Linked DNA regions of Homo sapiens: region 1 is linked to region 2. The links are contacts of gene promoters, found by promoter capture Hi-C in blood cells and fetal thymus (Javierre and others, 2016). All regions are on one chromosome and are shown on one strand. Each heading gives the region's core, a stretch centred on a gene start or on the middle of the fragment in contact. The rest is flanking DNA. Distances are from core to core; before and after follow the strand shown.

Evidence for each region. The method cuts DNA at HindIII sites, captures the fragments that hold promoters and counts their contacts. A CHiCAGO score of 5 or more calls a contact.
Region 1: the fragment with the promoter of RPS13 here is called in contact with the fragment with the promoter of RPL27A in region 2 in 1 of 17 cell types (non-activated CD4 T cells); the score reaches 7.1 in non-activated CD4 T cells.

Annotation. Positions count from the first base shown.
Region 1 is chr11:17,076,186-17,078,927 of GRCh38, reverse strand. RPS13 (ribosomal protein S13) reads left to right here and starts at 1,261. Exons shown (of 6, transcript NM_001017.3): 1 at 1,261-1,309; 2 at 1,451-1,499; 3 at 1,682-1,760. The coding sequence starts at 1,287. RefSeq lists an enhancer at 1,028-1,227. The HindIII fragment of the contact is 8,959 bases long and covers 460-2,742 here.
Region 2 is chr11:8,681,342-8,684,041 of GRCh38, reverse strand. RPL27A (ribosomal protein L27a) reads right to left here and starts at 1,250. Exons shown (of 5, transcript NM_000990.5): 1 at 1,226-1,250; 2 at 777-840; 3 at 1-36. The coding sequence starts at 1,228. TRIM66 (tripartite motif containing 66) reads left to right here and starts at 1,377. Exons shown (of 25, transcript NM_001388022.1): 1 at 1,377-1,441. RefSeq lists enhancers at 329-971, 1,298-1,487, 1,688-1,757, 621-1,820 and a silencer at 978-1,177. The HindIII fragment of the contact is 2,972 bases long and covers 857-2,700 here.

The DNA.
Region 1 (2,742 bases), core at 12-2,511, 8.4 Mb before region 2:
CACCGCAATGTCCTTCCCGGCTCCAGAGATTCTCCACCTCAGCCTCCTTCGTAGCTGGAACCAAAGGCACGAGCGAGCACGCCCGGCTAATTCTTTGTATTTATAGAGAGGGGGTTTCGCCATGTTGCCCAGGCTAGGTCTGTCTTAAAAGAGCTTCTTCCGGCCAGGCGCGGTGGCTCACGCCTGTAATCCCAGCACTTTGGGAGGCCGAGGCGGGCGGATCACCTGAGGTCGGGAATTTAAGACCAGCCTGACCAACATGGAAAAACCCGTCTCTACTAAAAATACAAAATTAGCTGGAAGTGGTGGCGCATGCCTGTGATCCCAGCTATTCAGGAGGCTGAGGCAGGAGAATCGCTTGAAGCCGGGAGGCGGAGGGTGCGGCAAGCCGAGATCGCGCCATTGCACTCCAGCCTGCGAATCAAGAGCGAAACTCCGTCTCAAAAAAAAAAAAAAGCTTCTTCCTTGACGGTTCCCTTTTCCCATGAAATTCAAATGCTTCATTTTATCCCTCATCCTCTTGGCCTTTGCAGTCTTGCTCCCAAGGCTCTTCCCTGCCCGCCAACTCTCTCACTTGGGAACATAGCTCCGTAAGCCTCTGCCCAACCCTTCTCCCCGGCGAGCCCAGCGCCCCAGAGCCCTGCGCAGGGGAATTCGAGTGCGGAGGGCGGCAGGCATCCGTGGGGACCTGGTTCAACTCCTTAGACCGGTTCTTCACCGTCAGCGACTCTCCCCTGACAGATTAGGGTAGGATTTAGAAATGAGAAATGGAAGCGCTGGCTGGGCGGTAGCCGCTGCCATGGCTTCCCGTGTGGTCCTCATCACATGCTATTGTATCTGTTAATTTATTAGGCGCAGGGCCGACTCTGAGGGATCTAGTGCCAGGACAAAGCCAGGCACTGGTGAATGAGCAAACACCTGTGTATGGCTGCTTCTTCCAGCCCTACCTGCTCCATACCCACCCCCAGCGCAGCATTCGAATCTTTGTGATCTCGGCGTCCACAGGGAATTTCGACGCAAGCTGGCGTCAGCCTCAAATTCCCGCTCTGGCAACAAGGCTGACCAAAGACCGATGCATGCCGGGATGAGGCTGGATTGACGATCTCTTGCGACGCTGAAATGCATTTCGGGAGATGTAGTCACACAGACGGGCGGTGGCTGCGCAGCGTAGCTCCGCCTCCTGCGTGAGAGGAAGCGGGGACGTGTGAGGTCACTTCCTGCGTGTTGGGTGGCTTCCTGCGGCGTTTCCACTCTCGCTCTCCTTTCGTTGCCTGATCGCCGCCATCATGGGTCGCATGCATGCTCCCGGGTGAGCTCGGGGCATCAAGCCGGATTGCTGGGCGGGGGGTGGGAGGAAGACAGGGAGTGTGGGCAGCGGGCCGAGGGGATGATGTTCTGGGCTGCTCTGGCACTAGCCGCCACCTCACCTCGAGACTGCTTCTCTCCCCAGGAAGGGCCTGTCCCAGTCGGCTTTACCCTATCGACGCAGCGTCCCCACTGTAAGTAGCGCGCTGGGACCGGGGAGAATCCGGGGAGGGGGTTGGCATTTGTCTCGGGTGAAGCGACGCCAGGGTGAGGAACTTGCGTGTATGAGGAGCGCGGTTTTGCGGAAGGAGAGACCGCTGTTCTGCGGCGCCATTCCTGGGTTCTCATCCTAAGGCTGCTTTCTATTCCATAACAGTGGTTGAAGTTGACATCTGACGACGTGAAGGAGCAGATTTACAAACTGGCCAAGAAGGGCCTTACTCCTTCACAGATCGGTGAGTGTTTGTGTCTAACATAGCCTATTTCGCCTGTCCTCGTGTGACTTGTAGGATCTAGTAGGTGGTAAAGTTATTTTAAAAATAGCCAAAACTCTGGTCTCGCCACCGTGCTAGAGGCATCATTGTAAGCACTTCACATGTACTGATTTCGTTTAATTCTGACCACAATACTTTGAAATAAATCTTCATGGCTTTCACCCCAGTTTACAGTTGAGGAAGCAGAGGCACACTGCCGCTGGATACTAACCAGCCCCAAATCACACAGCTGTCAAGTGGAGGAGTTGGAATTGGCTAAGCAGAGTGCCTGACACAGTTCCTCACAGTTAGGTGTGGTTTGAATCTCAGCTGCGTGTGACTTCGTGCAAGTGGCTTCATTCAGCAAATGTTTACCTTCTATGTGCTGAACATGGTTCTGGGGCCTGAGAACATACTACTCTCCGACTCCCCCGCCCAAAAAAGCCAGCCGCAATGTGCCTGTAGTCCCAGATACTTGGGATGCAGAGGTGAGAGGATCACCAGAGCCTAGAAGTCCCAGGCTGCAGTGAGCTATGATGAAGCCACTGCACTCCTGGGTGACAGAGAGACCCCACCTCTTTTTTTTTTTTTTTTTGAGACAGTCTTGCTCTTGTCGCCCAGTCTGGAGTGCAGTGGCGCGATCTCAGCTCACTGCAACCTCCACCTCCTGGATTCAAGCGATTCTCCTGCCTCAGCCTCCCGAATAGGTGGGATTACAGGCGCCCGCCAGCAGGCCCAGCTAATTTGTGTGTTTTTGTTTGAGACCGATTCTCACTTTGTCACCCAGGCTGGAGTGCAGTGGTATGATCTCGGCTCACTGCAACCTCCGCCTCCTGGGTTCAAGCAAGCAATTCTCCTGCCTCTGCCTCTGGAGTAGCTGAGACTACAGGCCGCACCACCACGCCCGGCTAATTTTTGTATTTTTAGTAGAGACGAGGTTTCACCATGTTGGCCAGGCTGGTCT
Region 2 (2,700 bases), core at 1-2,500:
CATTACCGCGGCCGCCGGGGTGCTTCCGGTGCTTGCCTGCAGGAATACAAAGCTACGTGGGGCCGGTGTGATGGCTCATGCCTGTAATCCCAGCATTTTAGGAGGACGAGGGGGGGTAGATCACCTGAGGTCAGGAGTTCGAGACCAGCCTGGCCAACACGGAGAAACCCCCGACTCTACTAAAAATAGAAAAAGAATTAGCCGGGCGTCGTGGCGCACACCTGTAATATCAGCTACTCGGGAGGCTGAGGCAGGAGAATCGCTTGAGCCCGGCAGGCAGGGGTTGCAGTGAGCCGAGATTTCGCCACTGCACTCCAGCCTGGGCGACAGTGATCAGTCTCACACACACACAAAAAAGCTACATGCACCACACAGCCTTCTCATGCATCTCAATACTTCCTCGCACAAAAGCAGAGTGTTTCCCAGACTTCTGTGTCCCGCTTACGCTGTTCCCACCCTACCGATGCCGGTTTTCAGCAATGCGATTACTTTAGGATTCCGGGTGAAACATCTTTTCAGGTTCCACATCACAGCATTCCCACAGTACTCCATGTCTTCAACTAACCCAATACCGTGCCTGCTCAATTCCTATTACCCCACTGATGTGAAATTCCTTAGAACTGGAATACTAGAGGATCGTCAGAAAAAAATCAACAGCTGTGCAACTTGACCACAAAAAGGTCTTATTCTAACCCACTTATAGGCTACCGATCTCCAGACTAGCTAAGCACCCGAAGAGAGCCCAAGGCCCACCCCGAGGGGAAGCCGGCACTTACCTATGCGGCCGTGGCCGTGGCTCACGTGGCCCCTAAGTTTCCGGGTCTTCCTCAGTCTGGATGGCTGTGTGGAAAAAGCTTGGTGGTAAGGCCTAAGGAATTAGGGGCAGGGGGCGATGCCCGCCAGCCGAGATGGTCCTGTAAGCCTGTGGGTCAAAGACCTAACTTCTGGAGCGTTTGGGAAAGCTGAGGGTACCGATCCGCTCAGGGCCGTGAGGTCTCACCACGGTAGCGCAGGGGCCCGCGTGTCCTAGAGATCCGAACCGCGGGCCTAACACACGGCTCCGGGAGCCCCGCCCCGGGCCCGCGCCGGCCACCCTGCCCCGCAGGCGGCCATGCGCAGCCTGGAAGCCCCGACCATGGTAGGGAGTGGATGACTAGGGGCAATGGGAATACAGCTTAGGGGTCTCCGCCGGCAAGGAAGAGGAGGCAAGAAACGAAACACCTACCATGTTGGCAGCCCAGACGAAAAAGGAAGGCCTTCGCCAAGTCTCGCGAGGTATCGGCCACGGGGGCGGGGCAAAACGCCTCACTTCCGGTCACAGAGGCCGGGCTTCGGGCGGGGCCTCCTGGTCTCGCGGGATTGCGCGCCTGCTAGTCGCTTCCTCTTTCTGAGGGTGGTGATCCCCCATCACGGAGTGTCCTGGTGGCGGTGTACGGTTTCGGTGAGGCTCGTTGTGCTAGGCTCGGAGGGCGAGAACTGTTGAAGAATCGGGGCTAGGTGTGCTGTACTGCACGCCGCCCGTGCTTGCTTGAGCCAGGCCCTTTTCTGGCGCCTTGGTCAGGGAACCGCCTAAGCCGACCCTAAGGGCCTCGTTGTCTGAGCTCCTCACCAAATGCGCCAGCCCTGAGCCGCCCCGCGCACCTCCACAGTTCTTAGTGGTCTGCCCGGGGCTGGTGATAGTGGCTACTGGTTTGTCTCCCGGCCGCAGTGCGGAACCGCGAGGCCCTCTTTAATCCTCAGTGTGCCCACCTGGTGTCTCGCTCGGTTTCCTGAAGCTCGGGCGGCTCCCGAAATGCCTTCTCCCGCTCTCACACTTCTGAGTGGGCACTGCAGCTTCCTTTCTCTTTTGCCCTTTTGCTATCATTTGGTTGTCCTCTCAAGTTTGAGCAACTTAAATTGCTTCAGGGACTTAGATGCCTGGTTGCTTTATGGTCCTTTTAATGCAGATGTTGTAAATACTTTTTCTAAATGCCACATTTAGGCCAGGCGCGGTGGCTCACACCTGTAGTCCCAACACTTTGGGAGGTCGAGGCGGGAGGATTTCTTGAGGCGAGTAGTTCAACACCAGCCTGGGCAACATAGTGAGACCCTCGTCTCCACATACAAAAGTAAATAAGTAAAAATAAATGCTATTTTTGAATTTTCTCCAGAATCTACATAACACGCCTGTGACCCTTTCCTGGACACAATGCAGACAGTTGCTCGCTTCCCCACCTGTACCACCACACAATCTAGTATAACCCTTATGTAATTTATTGACCTACGTTTGTCTTCCCTACTAGACCTAATTCCTTATGTGGTCAAGGACTGTTTTTTTTAATCCACACTCAACTAGTGATTGTTGAGTGAATAAATGAACTTACCCTCACCTCCCTGTCTTCGCTAATAGCAGCATGTCTTCGCTCTTAAGTCGGTTCCTTCAACCAGTGTTCAAGATCCCATCCCCTCGCTAGTCTATTAATAGATCCCATGGGAAAAATGAAATAAATTTTTAAAATCCCATCCCCTCAGTTATTCTCTGTGTGTATGTGTGAGCGTGTATTTATTTATTTTTCTTTGTCTTGCCCCCTTCAGCTAAAATATATTTTAGCTAAAATATCCAAAATTCTGGCCGGGCGTGGTGGCTTACTTCTGTAATCCCAGCACTTTGGAAGGCCGAGGCGGGCGGATCACGAGGTCAGGAGATCGAGACCATCCTGG